Regions from separate parts of the Homo sapiens genome. Here all the other regions are linked to region 1. Evidence: promoter capture Hi-C in 16 types of primary human blood cells and fetal thymus (Javierre and others, 2016). All regions are on one chromosome and are shown on one strand. Each heading gives the region's core, a stretch centred on a gene start or on the middle of the fragment in contact. The rest is flanking DNA. Distances are from core to core; before and after follow the strand shown. Region 1 holds the start of USP53 (ubiquitin specific peptidase 53). Region 2 overlaps METTL14 (methyltransferase 14, N6-adenosine-methyltransferase non-catalytic subunit). Region 3 overlaps MAD2L1-DT (MAD2L1 divergent transcript). Region 4 has its middle 14 kb from the start of MAD2L1.

The links. Contacts are between HindIII fragments. The CHiCAGO score rates a contact against its expected background, and 5 or more counts as called.
Region 2: a fragment that was not itself captured here is called in contact with the fragment with the promoter of USP53 in region 1 in 1 of 17 cell types (fetal thymus); the score reaches 5.1 in fetal thymus.
Region 3: a fragment that was not itself captured here is called in contact with the fragment with the promoter of USP53 in region 1 in 2 of 17 cell types (total CD8 T cells and activated CD4 T cells); the score reaches 6.5 in total CD8 T cells.
Region 4: a fragment that was not itself captured here is called in contact with the fragment with the promoter of USP53 in region 1 in 1 of 17 cell types (neutrophils); the score reaches 5.7 in neutrophils.

Annotation. Positions count from the first base shown.
Region 1 is chr4:119,208,973-119,213,962 of GRCh38, reverse strand. It overlaps USP53 (ubiquitin specific peptidase 53), which reads right to left and starts at 1,250. Exons shown (of 19, transcript NM_001371395.1): 1 at 1,090-1,250. It overlaps LOC101929762 (a long non-coding RNA gene), which reads left to right and starts at 1,319. Exons shown (of 3, transcript NR_125931.1): 1 at 1,319-1,436. RefSeq lists enhancers at 856-905, 611-1,184, 1,516-1,635, 1,758-2,332, 3,488-4,687 and a silencer at 1,256-1,385. The HindIII fragment of the contact is 14,070 bases long and covers 1-4,990 here.
Region 2 is chr4:118,692,607-118,697,210 of GRCh38, reverse strand. METTL14 (methyltransferase 14, N6-adenosine-methyltransferase non-catalytic subunit) reads right to left here. Exons shown (of 11, transcript NM_020961.4): 6 at 2,685-2,775; 7 at 1-29. Among named protein-coding and RNA genes, the nearest start is that of METTL14, 9.5 kb to the right of the region's middle. The HindIII fragment of the contact is 448 bases long and covers 2,907-3,354 here.
Region 3 is chr4:120,073,716-120,078,982 of GRCh38, reverse strand. All of the region lies in intron 1 of MAD2L1-DT (MAD2L1 divergent transcript), which reads right to left. Among named protein-coding and RNA genes, the nearest start is that of MAD2L1-DT, 9.4 kb to the right of the region's middle. The HindIII fragment of the contact is 1,023 bases long and covers 1,502-2,524 here.
Region 4 is chr4:120,050,730-120,055,590 of GRCh38, reverse strand. No RefSeq gene overlaps it. Among named protein-coding and RNA genes, the nearest start is that of MAD2L1, 14 kb to the left of the region's middle. The HindIII fragment of the contact is 3,129 bases long and covers 756-3,884 here.

The sequences.
Region 1 (4,990 bases), core at 1-2,500:
CCTTTTCTTTTAATAACTAAAAGTGAATCAGATCTTAATCACAAAAACCTTCCTAAGTGTACTGCGTTTTTTTGTTTGTTTGTTTGTTTTTTGGAGACGGAGTCTGGCTCTGTCGCCCCTGCTGGAATGCAGTGGCGCGATCTCGGCTCACTGCAACCTCCGGTTCAAGCAATTCTCCTGCCTCAGCCTCCCGAGTAGCTGGGACTACAGGTTAAGTTTACTATTAAACCTACCTCAAAAATAGCCTTAGATATTCTTTGCAAATATATATATTTATACATACATACATACACACACACACATATATATATATATATATATCTATTTCCAGATAAGGAAACTTTCGGAAAACTTTGCTGTCCAACTGGTAATTCCCTGCATACTTTGCATTGATAAAGAAAACCTTGTAGCAGGGTTACAAACCTCAAAACATCCTCAGATTGCAGGTTTTAGAAACCCTCCCTATTACACCTGTGCAAGTACTTCCTGTTCTCCAACACTGTTTAAAAATAGTTTGGTAAATGCCCCGTAAGCCGCCCTTTAGAAGCTAAACATTAACTTTATATACATCACCACTACCACTGAGAAACCACCACCCCAAGAATCTCACGAGTCCAGTCATCTCTCTTCTCCAAGGAGGGAGCATAACCATCCTGGACCCCTTTAAGTAAAAAACTGTGTGCTCAGGCGAGGCAATGTGGCTTGGACAGCCAGGGGCAGGAGCCAAGTAAGGGTATTACTCACAATCCCAGCAGGACTCCAGCTTGTCGCCGCCCTCAAACACGGCAGCAATAACATCCAGGACCCAACAAGTACAGCACCTCCTCCCGCCTCGCGAGCGCCTCCAGCCTGGCCAGAGGCATCTCCGCCAGACGCGGCGAGAAGGGGCGAAAGGGCTGCGTGACCTCTGGCGTCTGAACCGCCCAGCAAAGAGAGTGTGTGTGTGCCCAGAGGGCCGGGGCCATAGGAGGTCGCCGGGCTGCGAGGGGAGAGACGAGCTCTGGGGCTAGAATGAGAGTGTCCCGGTCAGGCCCGCGGGGGTCGCAGGTCTCTGGATCTCCAACCAGAGGGCTAGTTTCGGAGACTTACCTTGAGCTCTACCCTCCTTGCGCGAGGAGCGTGCGGTCCAGGTAGAGAAATACAGGCCTTCCACTCCCACAGAGCTACCTCCCGCTGGCCCAGCCCCGCTTCACGCCGACACCCGCCAGACACACTGACTGCTGCCACAGTACCGAGGCTCACCGGGAACTGGAGCACAGGCGGCTGGTCTCCGCCGCCCAGAGCCCGACCCTGTGAGCGGAGCATGCGCATACGCCCCAATACCCAGGGACCAGTCAGGCCAGTGACACCTGCGATCAACAGGTCCCTGGAGCCCCGCCCCTCTCCCCGCCTCGAGCCCGCCCCTCGGAGCGGGCTCCGCCTTCACGCTCACCGAGGTAACTCCGCCTCCGCTCGCGATTTCCCGGCTTTCTGGACCTGCGGAATTCTATTCCCGCGGGGATTTGATGGCGTGCGCGATACAGTTGGCTTCCTCGGAGGCGCGAGATCGCGCGAGACCAAGAGATAGAACATTTCTGCAAAAGCGGCAGCTTGGCGCTGGAGTTTGGTTGTTGGGGGAAAGGTGGTTGTAGGACGTGCTGTCTGGTGTGGTGAGAAAGAGGCTAGTTCTTCAGGAGGAGGCGATTATTCTGGTGCTCTTGGTAGTTCATTCGGTATTTTCTAAGCTCAAGAACGCGGATCCACCAAGGACTTCACTTAGGTTAGGTGTTACCTGAGAGAACAATCCGTAGTTTGGCATCAGAACCCCATGCGGACACGCAGTTTCCTTTAGATTTCCGTGAGTCGTTAGACGATCTATTTGCAGTTAAATGGCTTCCTGTGGCGTGAATGTGTATTCCCCAAGCAGTTGTTTCTTGCCTTTAATTAGATAGCTTTAATAAGTCTGTTGACCTGGTTAATGATTGTCAGAAAAGTCTGTCCGCCTCTTTGCCGTGCTTTCGAACAGGTTTTAAGTTAAAAGGTACTGCTGGGAATTGGGCTAAACTTTGATTTTGAATAAACCTTTCTTAGGAATAGTAGTAAAGGAAAAACCCATCGTCACTGATACCGAATATCTCTCAAGTAAATAAAGAAGGTTTTGGAACTCATTCCAAAGCTGGTGTAAGTTGAACATACTAATTGTAAAAATGGATTTCAGTAAACCCAGAGGCACTTCTAAAAGTTTATTTGAAGAAAGAGGGGGAAGAAATATTGGTCGTTGATACAGGAGACAAATAGGACCCGTTTGTAATGTCTGAGGCTGAATCATTAAGAATTTATTGAGCATTTACTATGTTCCCTTTACTGAACTAGGCACTGTCAGAAATAGGATGAAATAAAGCCGTGGTTTCTGCCCTCAAAATATTAAAAACTTTGGGAGGGGTGGGGGAAAAAAAGATCCTACTCTGCATTTTTAAAACAATAAGAGCACACCATTAACTCTTCCCTCCGTTTCTCTAATGTCATTTTCTCCTCATTCTGCAGCTACTTTTCTGGTGCACTTTAAATACTGTTTTTCCGCTGCGTGGTCTCTGTTCGCCAGCACTCCATTTTCTTTTGCTGTTTCTGTTTAATGTTAATCCATGTCTCCTTGAGCAGTCTCTTTCCCATCATGGATTTACCTACCACGTGTCCTGTGCACCAAGAACTCTCAGGTGTATATCTATACGTCGGACATTTTTAAGCAACATCCTTTGGATTTCACACAGTATCTTAAATATGTCCCAAATTGACATGGACATCTTTACTATAATCTGTTCCTGATGCCATGTCCCTCTTCACCCATCTGGAACCTACACCATTTCCATTCCCTGTTTCAGAAAATGACACGCAACTGCCCAAGTCAGAAATCTATGAGTACCCCTGTTACTTTTCCTTCATTTCCTCTTTTCTAATATCAAATTTTGACTCTTATTTCCTTAAGTATCTCTCAGGTCCACCCCTCCACTCTCACTGTCTTAGTCCTTCAAGTAATCACCATCTCTTATGACTCATCTTCCTTGTACTATTGCAATATTCACAAGATATCCTCTAGTTATTTCCCACACCAGTCCAACCTCCATTCTATTAATAATTTTTCTAACGTGAAAATACGATCATTATACTTCTCTGCTAAGAATTTTTCATTACCCACCGGCAGGGCCTTTCATGATCACACTGTTAAACTCATCGCCATTCTTCCTCCAGTTCCTCCACATTAATCTTTCTAAAGTCCTTGCTTTCTATGTTCTTGGTTCTCTCAAGATCCTTTGGTTCTCTCTCGAATGCTTATCTCCATGGATCTTTTCATAACTTTCTGAGACAAAATTGTCATCCCTTTTGGGACTTATTTTTATAACAATTATGTTGTACTATATTTATTTCTCTGCAAATGTACCTGACAGAGTAACCCCCACCTCCACCCTTGAGAAATAATTTGAACTGTGGATAATAATGGCTTATACTACCTCCCTTCCTTATTTAGCAATTACAGAAGAATACCCTTCAGTTCACCCTGCTCAAGAATTTGACTAAACCCTGACTATACACTTTTAAAATTATATAATTTCATACTTTCTACCAGTTTTTAGCATATCTATGTACCGATCCTTAAATGGTAGAGTTGTAATAGGACCCAATTTAAGCATCAAGAGGGCAGAGTCTGAAGCAAACATGAAAAAATGGAAAATTGACATTGCAGGACAGCTGTTGCTCCCAGAAAATTTGTAATTGGGAAAGTCACAACAAGGATTTAAAATATTTTAATTCTTACTATTTGTCCTTGAGGGACGTGTGTGGGTTTGATTCCCTAGTTTCTGATTGGCTGGACCCAAATTTGTGAAGACCAATCTCTGCACCTCACACAGGCAAAGAGATCATGAAAGGGAGCAGGCTTGGCATGCCAAAGAATACCCTAGATCATTCAGCTGAGGCTTAGCCAAAGTTCACACCACCAGCACATATACACACCTCTTAGTGTTATTCTGGATTGATTATAACTCAGACTTTGAGAAATGTGCTACCCTGTGGCTAGATGCACCCTGCCACTAATGTCTGGTAGGAATAGCAACATTGTGTCCTGCGGAGCTGTAACCCAGTAGTTCCAGGAGGTAATCAACAGCTTAACCATGACTGAGCTGGGTGGGGTAGAGTGAAATATAGCATAGGGAAGTAGTAGATCAATGACTGACTCAGGGTTAGATACTAGACAGAATCCTTTTTTTCCTAAATGCATCCATAAGGACTGACAAGTGAATTTCCTTACTACCTAAGCTCTCTGTTTTTTCATGTTTCCAAGGCATAGCACAGTGCCTAGCACAGATGCTTAACAAGCAGTGTTTATTGGATGGAGTAAAAATTGGAAGTTTTGTTGATTTTTTTGAATAGAGTCATCTGTGTGGGCTAAAGTTGGAGAGGGCTTCTGTGGGAGATCAAATATGAACTTCAGCTTGGAAGGATTATAAGCAAGTGTATTTGAAGGCATTGAGGAAGATATGTAACTTAAAAGAGCAAAGTTTTAGAAACAGGATTGAACAAGGCCAGTACAGGACTACAATGGGAAGCCTTTGTAAGTTCTGGGGCAGAATGATTCATTTGGAATAAGGTACAGAAGAACTGTAGGGGAAACTATAGCTAGGCAAGAAGAGAAATCTCTAGGCTGTGACTCAGGGATGAGTCAACCAGAAAAATCTAGTCACAATTGACCACTCCCTCCTTGACATCTTCATCTCAATTCTTGTGACATCATTCCTTTATGGCTTTCATCCTGCCTCATGGGCTTCTCTTTCTCAGCCTCCTTTTCTCTTGTACTTTTCAATCTGCTTTAAATGTTGATGTGCCTTAGTGCCTGATCCTGAGATGTCATTTATCCTCATGGTTTTAAATCTATTTCCCACACAGCAGCCAATTAGTCTTTTAAAAATATTGACATGTTACTCCCCAACTTAAATTGTTCAATGACTTTTCATTCACA
Region 2 (4,604 bases), core at 1,881-4,380, 520 kb after region 1:
CAAAGGCTTCTATATCGGCTTGTAAGTACCTATTTGATTAAAGCATTAAAAATGAGGTTTTTAAAAAAATGCTTTTTAAATAAGATTTTCAAGTACCTTAACAGATGGTAATGAAAGAAATGTCTTAGATATCACTAAACATTATTACTAAACACTATTTACAAAGTAATCAGTAACCTAATTACTAAAGGCCTTTTTATTGAGTCTTTTTTTCTTCAGTATAGACTTAAACGATCTACCAGTGATCTTTCTTAAGACATGAACGTAATTAAACTACATAGTAAAAGTCCTATTTTCCCCATGTACACCCAGAATATATTCTTCTCTCAATATTAAAAATCCATACTCAGATGTGTCTCTGAACCCCTTTCCCTTCTCATCTGAATTTTCTAAGGAATATCACATTGTTTTATTCTCAATTGTTCAGTTAGAAAACCCATTTCTCTGTAAGCTTTAAATTCTTCCCCCAAAACATAGTTTTCATATAGTTTTCTTTTATTAGTTTTTTCATTAGTAAAAATGTTTCTATTAAGAGTCTTTTCATGCTACCTAATATAAGTTATTACTGGCCTTTACTGAAAAGTTATTGTCACATAGCATGAAAATATTTTAAATTTAAAATACTTTAAATGTAAATGGGTTTTCGTTTGTTTGTTTGTTTGTTTGTTTGAGACAAGGTCTCACTATATTGCTCAGGCTGAATGCAGTGGCTATTCACAGGCCTGATTATACAGTACTACAATCTCAAACTCCTGGGCTCAAGTGATCTTCCCACCTTAACATCTCATTAAAGGTGTATTTTAGGCCAGGCATGGTGGCTCATGCCTATAATACCAACACTTTGGGAGGCCAGCGTGGGAGGATCAATTGACCCCAGGAGTTTGAGACCAGCCTGGTCTCAAAATAGAGACAGTGAGACCCTGTCTCTATTTAAATAAATAAATAAGTAAATAAGCAAGAAAGTAAAGGTGTATTTTAAAATACGATGAATATTAGAGTATACTTAGACTTCCTCTCCACATACTAAAACATTCTGTGGTGCTTCTAATGACTTACAGAATACAATTTTTTTTTTTTTTTTTTTTTTTTTTTTGAGACAGAGTCTCACTCTGTTGCCAGGCTGGAGTGCAGTGGCACAATCTCGGCTCACTGCAAACTCCACCTCCTGGGTTCAAACTCCACCTCTTCTGCCTCAGCCTCTGCCTCCCGAATAGCTGGGACTACAGGTGTGCGCCACCACACCCAGCTAATTTTTGTATTTTTAATAGAGACAAGGTTTCACCATGTTGGCCAAGACGGTCTTGATCTCTTGATCTAATGATCCGCCCACCTCAGCCTCCCAAAGTGCTGGGATTATAGGTGTGAGCCACCGCACCCGGCCCAAAATACATTTTATCATATCATTAAATGTACAAAACCTTCAAAGCTAAATTCTCCAATTTCAAAGATCTCATATACATTTCTGAGGAAAACATTATTCTGCTTAGCAACGGTTGAAATGAATTATCATATTCCAAATTGTTAAGAATAGTATCTCAGAATGCTAAGCTGTAATTAATATTTGTTTTCTTCCTTTCCTGACTCTAAGTTTTCTAAGCTTCCTTTAACAAACAAATTACTTGACAAGAAGTCATTTAAAGGCATTTTAAGTAAGCTATCAAGAATACGGAGTCTCACTCCGTCACCCAGGCTAAAGTGCAATGGTGCGATCTCGGCTCACTGCAACCTCTGCCTCCTAGATTCAAACGATTCTACTGCCTCAGCCTCTCGAGTAGCTGGGATTACAGGCGTGCACCACCATGCCCAGCTAATTTTTGTATTTTTAGTAGAGACAGGGTTTCAGCATGTTGGGCAGGCTGGTCTCAAACTCCTGACCTCAGGTGATCCACCTGCCTCAGCCTCCCAATGTGCTGGGATTAGAGGGGTGAGCCACCATGCCCGACTTGGATGACTTTTAAGAAGAAAAAATATTTAGAGGCACTTTAAGCAAATTATCTGAAAAGCTGAAAAAAAACTGAGAGCCCCCTCTGAACTCAGCACCAGAGCTTCAAATTAACATTTTTGCTATAACGAAGAAATAGGGCTCAGTACGCTGGCTCATGCCTGTAATCCCAGCATTTTGAGGTTGAGGGGGGCAAATCACCCAAGGTCAGGAGTTTGAGACCAGCCTGAGCAACATGGTGAAACCCCGTCTCTACTAAAAATACAAAAATTAGCCAGGCATGGTGGTGTGTGCCAAAAATTAGCCAGGCATGGTGGTGCGTGCCTGTAATCCTAGCTCTTCAGAAGGCTGAGGCATGAGAATCACTTGAACCCAGGGGGCGGAGGCTGCAGTGAGCCAAGATTGCGCCACTACACTCCACACTCTAGCCTGGACAACAGAGCAAGACTCCATCTCAAAACAAAAAAAGAAAGAAAGAAAAATAGAGCCAGGAGTGATGGCTGAAATGCCTGTAGTCCAGGTGAGGTGGGAGGATTGCTTGAGCCCAGGAGATGGACACAAGCCTGGGCAACATAATGAGCACCAGCCTTTAAAAAACAAAAAGGCAGAGAGAAGAAACAGAGTAATAAAGCATGTTAACATAAGTGCTGAATTTAGGAAGAAGAAAAAAGGTTATAGGATAAACAAACTGATACTTTAAGCCTGAGTTGGGAATAAACAGTAATTGAATAAAAACACTTACATGGGAGGAGTGTTAGATTTAGCTATTAACTCATCCTTTAGCCTGATGAGCTCCCTCAGTTTAGGATATTCTTCAAATCTGTCAGCTAAACCTGAGCAGAAAAAATAGTAAATTCTGAATTCATCTCAACTGAAGTTAATATCAGTAATTCAAAAGTTATGAGCCCTCCCAAGAAAACAAAATAATACACATGCCACTTGACTCATATCTTTTAAGGAAGCTTAACTTCTAATAATTTTAAATAATATGTATGCAGATTTCATAACTAATGACATGCAAGTAAAAACCCAGATGTTCTAAAACCCAGTCCAAGTCAATAAGCCACTTAATATCACATATTTATTAAGTTAAACCATTACCCCTAGCATCCAGTTTAACATTCAGGAAAAAAAAAAAAAAACAACTACCTTTCTTGTGTGATTCTTTTCCCCCTTCCTCTTAGCTAAAAAAAAAAAAAAAATCCTTATCCTAAAGAACCTGATTGTTAAGATTTTTACTTAATTTCTTGGATAGTTATTCAAAGCAAAGAAAATGAGTGTTTCTTTTCTTCCCAAACAGGAAGCACATTTATAACAACATAAATTATATGAACTTCCTAATTTAAAAACCAAAAGTACAAATATTAGTAACTTTAATATCAAAGAAAAAAAGAAAATGATTTTGTAAAGCTTCCTCAGTCAGTGGTTGCAGATCACATTTCAATTAATGAATTTGAAGATTTTATTATAGTCAAATTTCAAGACAGCAGAGTCAGCTTCTAATCACCTATAAAACAGAAGGTACAACTTTTCCTCAATCTGTAATAGTTTTCTAAGTATGTTTTCTTTGCCTTGGGGAGGCAGGTATCCTAAGAGCAGAGCAGTTTATATCTAAATCTGGTTATACAATTTAACCATAAATTTTTATGCTACATCTACATTTTGCTTATAAAAACATTAAAATTAGTTTCTCTACTTCAAGAGAAATGTTGCTTACAAGTAACAAAGGAAAAACTAAATTTGATTATATCAAAAATAGAATGTTTGTGCTACAAAATATACTATCAAGAAAGTCACCCACAGAATGCGAGAAAATATTCGCAAATTATTCATCAGGTTAAGAGACTTGTACTCAGAATATGTAAAAAATACACACCCACACCCACACACAAAGAGAATATATAAAAGACTCTTGTTATTCAATAGTAAAAAGACAGTGAAATAATTTAAAAATACACAAAGTATTAGGATATTTCTCTAAAAAAGATATTTAAATGGCCAATAAGCATAAAAAAAGATGCTCAATATCATTAGTCACTAGGCAAATGCAAATCAAAACCACAGTAAAATACTACTTCACACTTTCTAGGATGGCTACAATAAAAAACAGATAATAGTAAGTGCCAAAGATGTGAAGAAATTGGAACCATCATACGTTGTTAGTAAAAATGTAAAATCGTGCAGCTGCTTGGAAACACAAGAGAGTAGTTGTCAGAAAGGTAAACATATACAATAGCATATTACTTGGCAATTTAAAAACATGAAGTACAGGCACATGCTTCAACATCGATGACCCTTAAAAATATGCTAAGTGAAAGAAGCCAGTGACAAACCACCACACATTGTATAATTTCATTTACAAGAAATGTCCAAAATAGGCAAACGTATAGAAATAGAAAGTAGATCAGCAGATACTTAAGGCTGAGAAGGGGTAGATGAGAGAGAGGAAATGGGGACTGACTGCTAATGGGTACAGGGCTTCCTTAGGGGAGATGCAAATGTTCTAGTATAGATTGTGAAAATAGTTGCACAATTCTGTGGATACATTAAAAAAAAACTCTTTTGAGTGAATTGTACAGTATGTAAGTATTATCTCAATAAATCTGTCTAAAATGCAAGAATAGGCATAATACCAAACTGGAGCCAAAAAGAAACAAACAAA
Region 3 (5,267 bases), core at 764-3,263, 860 kb before region 1:
TAAACATAAAATTCCCAAGATCCAGCAATTGCTTATGTGGTTTCTCCACTCTCCATTTCTCTTGCAAACCTTTTACTTCTATCTTCTTAGCCTTACTTCCAAACTCCTTGTAAAAGACTTTTATACCCTACCGTGTGACCCAAATTGTCTCCTCTTAGTTCACCAAAAATCTTTCAAGTACAAAATCTGTGACTCTTCCTCAGTCATTCTTATTTGTGCTGAATTATTTACTAAACTACTAAAATAGTATTTTTCTACCTAATCCAAATTCACTAAATAGGTTCTGACATTCCTCTCACAATTTGCCTCCTACTTTTCCATTTCTTCTGAGTTTCCTTCACTGCCTCTTCTTCCTCAATGTGTCATTTTATTAGCTATTACCTCAAAAAAAATTTTTTTTTTTTGCCTGGCCTAAAACCACTTGAAGGAAAATGAATCGAATGCCACAAACTTATCTATATCATCTCCATGTATAACAGCTCCACACCATGATCCCCCAAAACCCAGGCTGTTCTTCAGAGTACAACCAAACACATCTCAACACATTTTTAAAATGTCTCTCAAATTTGTCATCTTTTTACATTCCTGCTGTATTGCATATTCTCATTTCCTTTTGTCTGAGCTATCAATAAAATTGGCAGGACAAAGAGTAGGCTATTTCAAATGCCATTCTATCCCTTGGCCAGAATATTTGTTTAATGCCTCCTCTTAGTTCACTGAAGATCTTTTAAGTAGAAAATTGACAAGATCTTTTAAGCACAAAATTTTTAAAAAATTCCTGTTTTTGCAGCCCTAGTCAGGGTACCCCTTTTGGCCATCCACTCTTAGCCAGATGAGCCAGTATTGCACCCTGGATCCTACCTCTTGTTTCTTTTCCTCCAGTTTTGGACTCTTTTCTTCCACTTTTGGATTATTTTCCTTGTTCCAATTCTGTGACTTTCCAGCCATTCAGCTCCATTGGTTTCCATTGCTGAATGGGTCTCAGGAGTTACATAGCAAGGATGGAGGAATATTAAGGACCCACTATAGTTTGCCTCAAATTAGAGTTATCTAAAATATAGTCAGATCTTTGATGCTTTCAGGATTCATATTCTGGTACCATCTAGATTGCTTGGATTTGACTCCAGTTCTCCTAGCTGGGTGACCTTAGCTAAATTATTCAACTTCCTTCTGTAACTTAATTCAGGTAATAGTAGTATCTAACTCTTGAGCTAATGAGGGATTAAATAAAATGATTCTTGTAAAGCACATAGAAATGTGCCTGGCAGATAGTATGTGGTTAATAATGTTGGCTATCATTATTATATATGTTATAAGAGTTTCTATCTCATCTGTGCCTTAAGTTGTATTATCTAAAGCCTCCTTTAGTTATGCTAAACTAAACATGTACCAACCCAGGAAAGGTGCGTGGAAAAGTGGTGAAAAGCTGTCTTATTAACAACAACAGTAACAATATAATAATAAAACAATAACAATAACATATTAGCATTAAGCCAAAGCTTCATTTAAATTATCTCATGTAATACTCAGAAAAATTATATGTGACAAGTACTATTGTTACATCCATTTTACCGATAAGGAAAATAACTCCTATATAATTCTTCTTAAATTGTCCAGATAGTCTGCTTCTAAGAAGTTTCTCTGGAACATGCTAGGCTAACATCTTTTTTTGACATATCTGCATGTGATCTCTGCTGTTGGTAGATTGCTTGGAGATTCCTGCTTCTTTTAGACAAGACCATGACACTCCCTCATTATGCAACCAGTAATAAAGTTTTTTTTTTTTATGTGATCTAAGTGGACTTTTATGACAGGATTTGTTGAAACCCCTAAGATGGCTTTTATTCTGTGCTTTGGGCAGTGGTAAATAGATGGGGTTCAAGAGTCTGGAGCACTCCTTCCCAATAAGAATGTATTTTCCTTACAGGATTGTTCTGCAAAGTCCATTATAAAGAATGATAGCTCACGCCGGGCATGGCGGCTCACACTTGTAATCCCAGCACTTTGGGAGGTCAAGGTGGGTGAATCACTTGAGGCCAGGAGTGCAAGACCATCGAAACCTTGTCTCCACTAAAAAATACAACAATTAGCTGGGTGTGATGGTGCATGCATGTAATCCCAGCTACACAGGAGGCTGAGGAATAAGGATCACTTGAACCTGAGAGGCGATGATTGCAGTGAGCTGAGATGGTGCCACCACGCTCCAGCCTGGGTGAAAGAGCAAGACTCTGTCTCAGAAAAAAAAAAAAAAAAAAAAGAATGATACTTCAAATTTCCACATAGGCATGCAGGTCAGCCATCCTAACTAGGTCTATTCCATATTTACCTAGAAGAGAGGACAAGCACGGAACACTACTATTCCCAACTCAGGTGCCTCATCCCCTAATCAATAAGGTTTCTGCAAACATCCTCAAAATCAGTGGCTTCCAAAGTGGAATATATGCAAAAAACAATCCTTTTGGGAGTATAGGAAGGAATGTTACAACTTCTATTTAATTTATGTTTTAACCTAGGAAAATAAGCTTTACTAAAAAAATGGATTTCAAAAAATGGACTGACATTGCACACTCACACAGTCTCCATGTCAGAAGGTCACGTTCTTACTCATATGTGGAAGTTAAAAAAGTTGATCCCACAGAAGTAAAAAGTACAACAGAGAATACTAGAGGCTGGGAAGGGTAGGCGGAAAGAGAGGACAGAGAGATTTGTTAAAGGAAACAAAATTACAGCTAGATAAGAGTAAGTTCTAGTGTTCTACAGCACTTGTAGGATGACTACATCCTACAAGTTAATAATAGTTTAAAATAGCTAGAATGGGGATATTGAATGTTTGAAACACAAAGAAATTATAAATGTTTAAGATGATAGATAGGCTGATTACCCTGATCTGATCACTATACATTGTATAGACCACAACATCACTATGCACCCTGTAAATATGTACAATTATTATTTGTCAGTTTTAAAAATTTAGAAAAAAAAGGGAGTCATAGGCCATGATTGGTACCCTGAGGAAATGCAAGTCAGCTGTGCCAGATTTACTGGCTCTTTCTCTTTGCAGTACTGTGCTAACAAGAACTTCAGAAAAATTAACATTCTTCCATTCCGTTTTTCAAAAGACACTCATGTTATGGAAGGAGCACGTTTGAATAAACTTTTTTTTTTTTTTGAGATGGAGTCTCGCTCTGTCACCCAGGTTGGAATGCAGTGGCACGATCTCAGCTCACTGCAAGCTCCAGCTCCCGGGTTCATGCCATTCTCCTGCCTCAGCCTCCTGAGTAGCTGGGACTACAGGTGCCCGCCACCACACCCGGCTAATTTTTTGTATTTTTTTTTTTTTTACAGGGTTTCACTGTGTTAGCCAGGATGGTCTCAATCTCCTGACCTCGTCATCCGCCCTCCTCAGCCTCCCAAAGTGCTGGGATTACAGGCATGAGCCACCGCACCTGGCCTGGATAAACTATTTTTTAAAAAAGTCTCATCTGTACAATTGAAAAGTTTGGAAACAGAGTTCTCTAAACTATAATTTTTCTAAATTACAAATTAGTTCCAAAACTAACTAAAAGGTCAAACAATGCATTTAATTAGTTCCCAAACTAATAGGAAGGTATTGTTTTGATATTTTTTTAAAAAAAAAAGGGTTAAAAAACTGCTTAAACCATTGTTTTTGAACACATTCATTAAAATTATTAAAATATCATATGTCACTTTTTAACCAGCTTGTAAGAACACCTAATTGGTACCATTAAATTGAAATTTAATAATCCCTTTTCAGCAAAAACTTTGCATAATTGCTAATACAGGTAAATAAAAAGAATAAGAAGTCAACAATGTACTTTCTTCCATTTGGACCTTCATATCTTTGTGGTGTATCTCTTTTAGCTCTGCTGGCCAAAAAACACAAACCCCCCAAAACAAACAAAAAAACTATTAAAATAAGCTGAATTATTAGACTTGTAAACCACTCTTTCAAAAATAATTAAACCATGATTTTTAAAAGCAATGAAACATATTCACTGCAAAAATCTTAATATGGTTATTAATATATTTAGTGAAAGTAAAAATAATTTATTTTCTAATAATATAAACAGAATTATTTTAAAAGTATTTCTCATCTTTCTTAATTTCGAACAACTGGTATGATTTAAACACATATGCTATACCTAACACTGTGGAAAATGTTTATAATTTAGAGATAAATAACCAACATTTACATAAGTATATTCATAACTTTTTCTGTTACTGATAGTACACACTATTTTGGAAAACAAGACCTTTGAGAAAGAGAAGAGAAAGGTGCATTCACATTTCCAGATTGCTTCAAATAATCTCCCTACAAGTTCCAGTCTCCCAGGAGGTACAGGCAAGTGTACTTGGGGCATAAGTAGAACTATGACCTGCCTTTCCCACACTCCTGATCTTTTTCCTAAGTCAGGCAGGCAAGCATTGTAAGTGTGGAATGCTACACCTACAATGTCCCGAAGATGTTCATCTTCTATGTTATGAGTACTTTTGGCTGCTTTTGGGAGTTAAGTATTATAATTTCTTCTTATTTCAATGTAGACTAACTCAATAAGAATCTTATTATTCTTAAAATAGCTCAAAATTAATGAATCTTAATGTAAAATTCCAAAAACAAAAAGAGCCTATCTTATCGTCTAACTATACAAATTAATAACCACACTTTACATTTAAATCTCAAAATTCTGTGGATACATTTTAAAATAACTAAATGCTATGATCTATTGTTTCTCATACTATAGTCTACAAGTATACTCTTGGAAATATTCTTAATTAAATAAAACTTCAAATTTTCTTTTATTTTGATGATGTTGTAACAGAGATTAAGAAAGATCCTTAAAACAGAGAATTGCCATCTACCTGAGTGCAAAAAGTTAGAATCTGTATTTGTAAACATATTAGGATTAAGCAATCATGAAAGACACCATTTATTTTTAATCCACTTGATCTCCAAGTTTAAACCAAAAGCTCTCAAGTTCAGTAAGCCTTTTTGTTGTTGTTGGCTGATGTTAAAAGGGTACATTATTCAAGAATTTTAAAAAAGTCATATTCAATTTATAAATTGAAAAGTTCAGCACAAATAATGGAATTAATGTGCATGACTGATCTGAAACCTGATAAATATGGCTTGACTACCTTATTGTTTGAATGAGCTATAAACACAAGGCAAGTTATGAGAAAACCGTTCCAGTCAAAAAAGCTGAGTTTATCTAAATAGAAAAATATAAACAAATATAAAGTGATTT
Region 4 (4,861 bases), core at 1,071-3,570, 840 kb before region 1:
AATTTTATTAGTTATATATTTTTAAAAATAGATCTTTTAGAGATATTTCCATTCTTCATAATTATGACTTTTAAAGCCAGCAGTATTCACTGAGGCTAAAAAAAAAAAAAAAAACAAACGTAGTTGGGCAAGCTACTTAATCTTCATTAGAGTTGACAATTCTGTTCCAATCTGGCAAAAACATTGTAGCCCTAGCAACAAGACTATTAGAAAAGGCCTAGAGTGAAAAATGTCAGAGTTGACCCTCTGATTACACAAGTTGGTTTATGTTACCATGTCACCTATTTTTGTCCTCCACCATGTGATCTATTTTTATACCAGAGAAACATAATATAGTTACATTTACTTGTACAAAGCCCATTTCATCTACATTTATCTGCACCATTTTGCTATGCAAGCTTGTTTGCACAAAGGAACTTACATGAGATCAAAATCTTATTTTCTTGGAATTTTATCTGTGTGGAAAAAGGCATCCCAAATATAAGCTGGACCACCCATAGTCCATTTCCTTGCAAGGGAAAGAGTCCAAACACTTTAAAAAACTTTCTAGATATGGACATATCTAGTGGATGCCTAGACATGGATATGAATTTCTTTCTGAAATGGCAGTCTCACTGACCAAGTACAGATGCTAGTGGTTTTAAAGATTGGGTCTGTGATGTGCAAAATATTTCATATCTAACATGCAGTTATTGGATCACTGTGTTCACACTCATAAGAGTCAGTACAGCTCTTTAAAAACAGGCTGTAAAGCTTACAGCCTCCAAGTCTAGGAAAGGAAATTCATGGGTATTGATCATCTACTGTATGCCAGGCACCACTGAAGTGCTTTACATCTGTTCAGCTGACTCCTAAATGAATGGAGGTTGGGGTTAGTGGGGAAATGGAAGACTTGGGCCACAAGCTGTGGTCTTAGAAACTGATGATGGGACATGGGGAGAGCCATGAGATAAAGGAAATTAAGTCTGAGTTCCAAATGAGGAGTCCTCTGGAGCAAGGAACAGCCCCCAAACCTCAATTTAGGGCTGTGAGGGAGAAGAGGGTGGGGAGAGAAGGACTGCATCCAAAATGGAAATTCTACAACTCCGCTGATGCCTCCATCGCCCCAGAGGAGACCCATAAAGCAAAACCATGAAGAAACACTGGGGAGTCTGAATCCTTTATAGAACATCTTTAGCTCAGTTTGTGGGCAGGGAAGGGATCAGTCTTCAAATTCATTCATTACATGCATTATCTCAATCCTTGCAACAACCCTGTGAGAATTGATATCCCCACTTTATAGATTTAAGAACTAAGATTCAGGAAGGTTAAGTAATTTGCCCAACTGCAAACATCCAGAATCCATGTGCTGGCCCAATTCCCAAACCAATAGGAACCAAATCCTTTTATTATATCTTGTTTCCTCTCAGAGTCTAGGGGACAGAGGAGGGTTCTCCTGCTCCAGACTTAGCTACAAAAAGACTAGAATACCGTGTGAATCTCACTCCAAATTGAGGAAGTAAGAACTTGTAGTCAAAATATTTGAATATTGCATTAACTTTTCATAATACTGCCATTAAATGTTCACACAGGGCATTTTGCTTTAAAACAGGAGCATTCATTTTCTTTCCAGCAACATTTCTTCTCTAATTCTTTCACTTGTTTTTGTAACCAAAGGTGTGTTGGAATTTGTGTTTAACATGTAATCCTGATCCTTCTACTTTGTGAGTTTTAACCAACTTGAGACATAGATGCAGGAAACAGAAGAAGATTGAAATTTATTATATGTATTATTACCCAAATTACAGCACTCTATAGTAAAGCTGGATTGGAGAATGAGCCTTACACTTAAGTCAGAAATAGGGTTTGCTACTCCTTCTTAAGTGAACCAAGCAGCCTGTGTAGTCACAGGTGGAAGGGCCAGACAACTTCATTCTTCCTTCTCCAGCCCAACTCCAACCTAGGAGGAAGCCTTGCATGCTGAATTGCCAAGGGCAAAATTAGAAAGCACTGTACTCGAGCTGCTACAAGCCATGGAAAAATTTCTTCTTTGCTGCTTGGGATGGGCTGAGAGAAAAAGTGGAGAGAGGGCCCCAGAACGTTACTCCAGTGCTGTTTTCTGTCATCAGGATTGGAACAGAAACCCTAAGAGTGGAGTAACAAGCATCCCTCCTGCTATTTGCCAGCTTTTTCATCTCTTGGTATATTACAGTGTGTGTTCCACTGGCATTATGTAAGTTGATTTTAGGTAGCATGATGACAGGCATTTTTTTAAAAAGTTTTAGTAATATATATGTTGTAATCAGAAAAATATGTAACATTGTTTATCATGAGTAAAAAATTGAGCGAAAGATTTTAAAAGTATACACAATATTTAAGGAAAAATATTATATCAGTATTAGTGTGAGCGATATGCAGACACGAAGGCCACATATGAAGGAAGGCTGGGAAACAATGTCATAACCCACTGGACTTAAGCAACTTGGAAGTAAGCCAGGGTGGGCTGTTCCTCTCAGCAGGGAAGTTGCTTGCTCACAGGGCCGTCATGTTCTCACTTTCCTAAACCCTCCTTCTTTCCACACTAATTCCCTCCAGAGCTGCCAATGGGCATTTCGCTTTTTGCCAACAAAAGTCTCTAGCAACATGAGTCAGACAGAACTGCATGCAGCACCCTAAGCAGAAAATGTATTCCCCATTCTATTTCCTATTACTGATTATGCTCAGTCATGTTGTCCAGAATTAATGAATGTATTCATTTTATATTCATGTATACATTCATGAATGTATTCATGAATGCCAAGACCAGATCAACAACATAAAAATATTCTAAAGTTGAACAATATGAAACTCTTCTCATTTTTTAACCCTCCAGACTAAATTCCCTTGCAAATGAAAAGCCCATAGAAATTAAGGTCAAATTCCTTCATTCCCAATTCTATACAATTGGCTCATTCTCAGCCAGAGGGTCTTACACTGATCTCTGGGTTCCTATAAGTTCAGCTATAACCTGGGCCGTCTTTCATAGGAATGGTTACAGCTTCTTCAGTCTTTTCAAAATTAATTCAAATTTCTAAGTAATTCAGCTCTCCAAGGGGTAACTAATCACAAAAGAAACTGTGGCTCCACTATGTAAGTTATTACAAGCAAAATTATGGTCCCCAAATTAAGTGAATGGTGTAATCTTTTTTGACACGGTTGTCGCCACCCAAAGAGCATGGCAGATAACTTAATGGTACCTGTGTTGTAGACAGAAGGACCTGAAAACAGCTGGGTTTCTGTTCCAGGGAGGGCCAGCCAGCGGTGCCAGTGTCAAGAGTTCACAGGCTGTAAATCTATATACACTGAGCAGAAACTGCCCATCAACAATTATGCTTCCACATGTTTAGTGTGTGTGTGTGTATGTGTGTGTGTGGTGGTGGTGGTGGTAGGTGTAGTGGCAATGCTTCTGGCAAACTCCCCATGTATATTACCTACTTTCTCAGTGAATGACATTTGAGACATTATTCCTTCTTAGAAAATTTAGATGTTTTGATTTCTTCATGTCTTGCATTTCATGCTTTTAGCACTTCAGTGCAAGACTGTGATTAGTCTAGATTAAACCTCTATTCCCAAATATCTTCAGGTGCGTTCTCTCTAGGAGCGTGAAGTCTCTCCTTTGTGGAAACATGAGGAATGGAGTAGTGACCATCACTCTACTCCCTTAGCACTATTTTAACTTAATAATATATCATATTGTATTTATTCAGATAATAGTAATTGTCACCACTATTCCATATGCTTTTCATTCCTACCTGGGCAGGTCAGGTTGGTCCCAGCTGACCAATAGTTAACCATAGTCAAAATTAAAAAAAAAAAAAAAAGAAGTTAAAACTCAAGGATCACAGAAAGAGCCAGGGAGTCAAGCTTACTCTTCTCAAGAAATAAGAGAATGATGTCAAAGTTTAGCAAAGCTTTAAGGAGATTCTAGATCTGATGGACTGAAATAGTCAAAAGTTAGTATTCCAAAGAATTAGGCCCCTGTAAAGACAGAACACAGTAAATTGAAAGAAGACCCCAGAAACCCTGAACTTCAGGGCAGGTACTTTTTCTGTTGCCCTTTAATTTCTTCCTGTCTCAATTGGACCTAACCATGAGTATGAGGAGAGTGACTGCAGCTGGGGAAAGAAATAGTGCCAAGAGCTGCAGCTGCAGAAAGTTTTGTTTTCATTTTTTTAACTTTTATAGTGTAAAATTAATATGCTCATAAGTTAATAAAATCAAACAGTACAGAATGGTACCAAGTGAAGAGTAAATTATCCACCTGTCTTCATTCCCCCACTCCCCACGTCTAATCTAGCTCCTTATTTTCAAACATGTTTTGTTCTGTTAGTGGTTATCACCATACCTTTAAGCATATGTTAATATTACTATTTTTTTTGTTGTTGTTTTTCAACTTTAGGTCACATCTATTGAAAGATGAGAAACTTAGTTCGTATTTCTTTATCCATCTACTCCTGAGTTTTTCTAGTCATATTATTTTCTTCTGGTGGTTATCTTTATAATTTTAAAGAATATGTTCAAGCTCTATATTTTGTTACATCAATTTTAGTATGTTGATTCCTTGCTATAGAAGGTACAAGAATTTGTGTCTGACATTGCTGGCCACATCTCTCTGCTACCTTAACATTCAGACTTTTGTGTTTTTTCCATTATCAATTTTAATACTAGTTAGATTCTCTTTTATAGTTATTATTGTCTTCCAGTTTCGTTGATTTGTTGACTCTACAAATTGAAATAGCATTTTCATTATCCTGATTATTGAATTACCCCTTATTGATTGATCAAATAGCATGAGTCTACCTATTAAGGGGAGAAAATGTAATCTAGTTCATTAATACTGAAC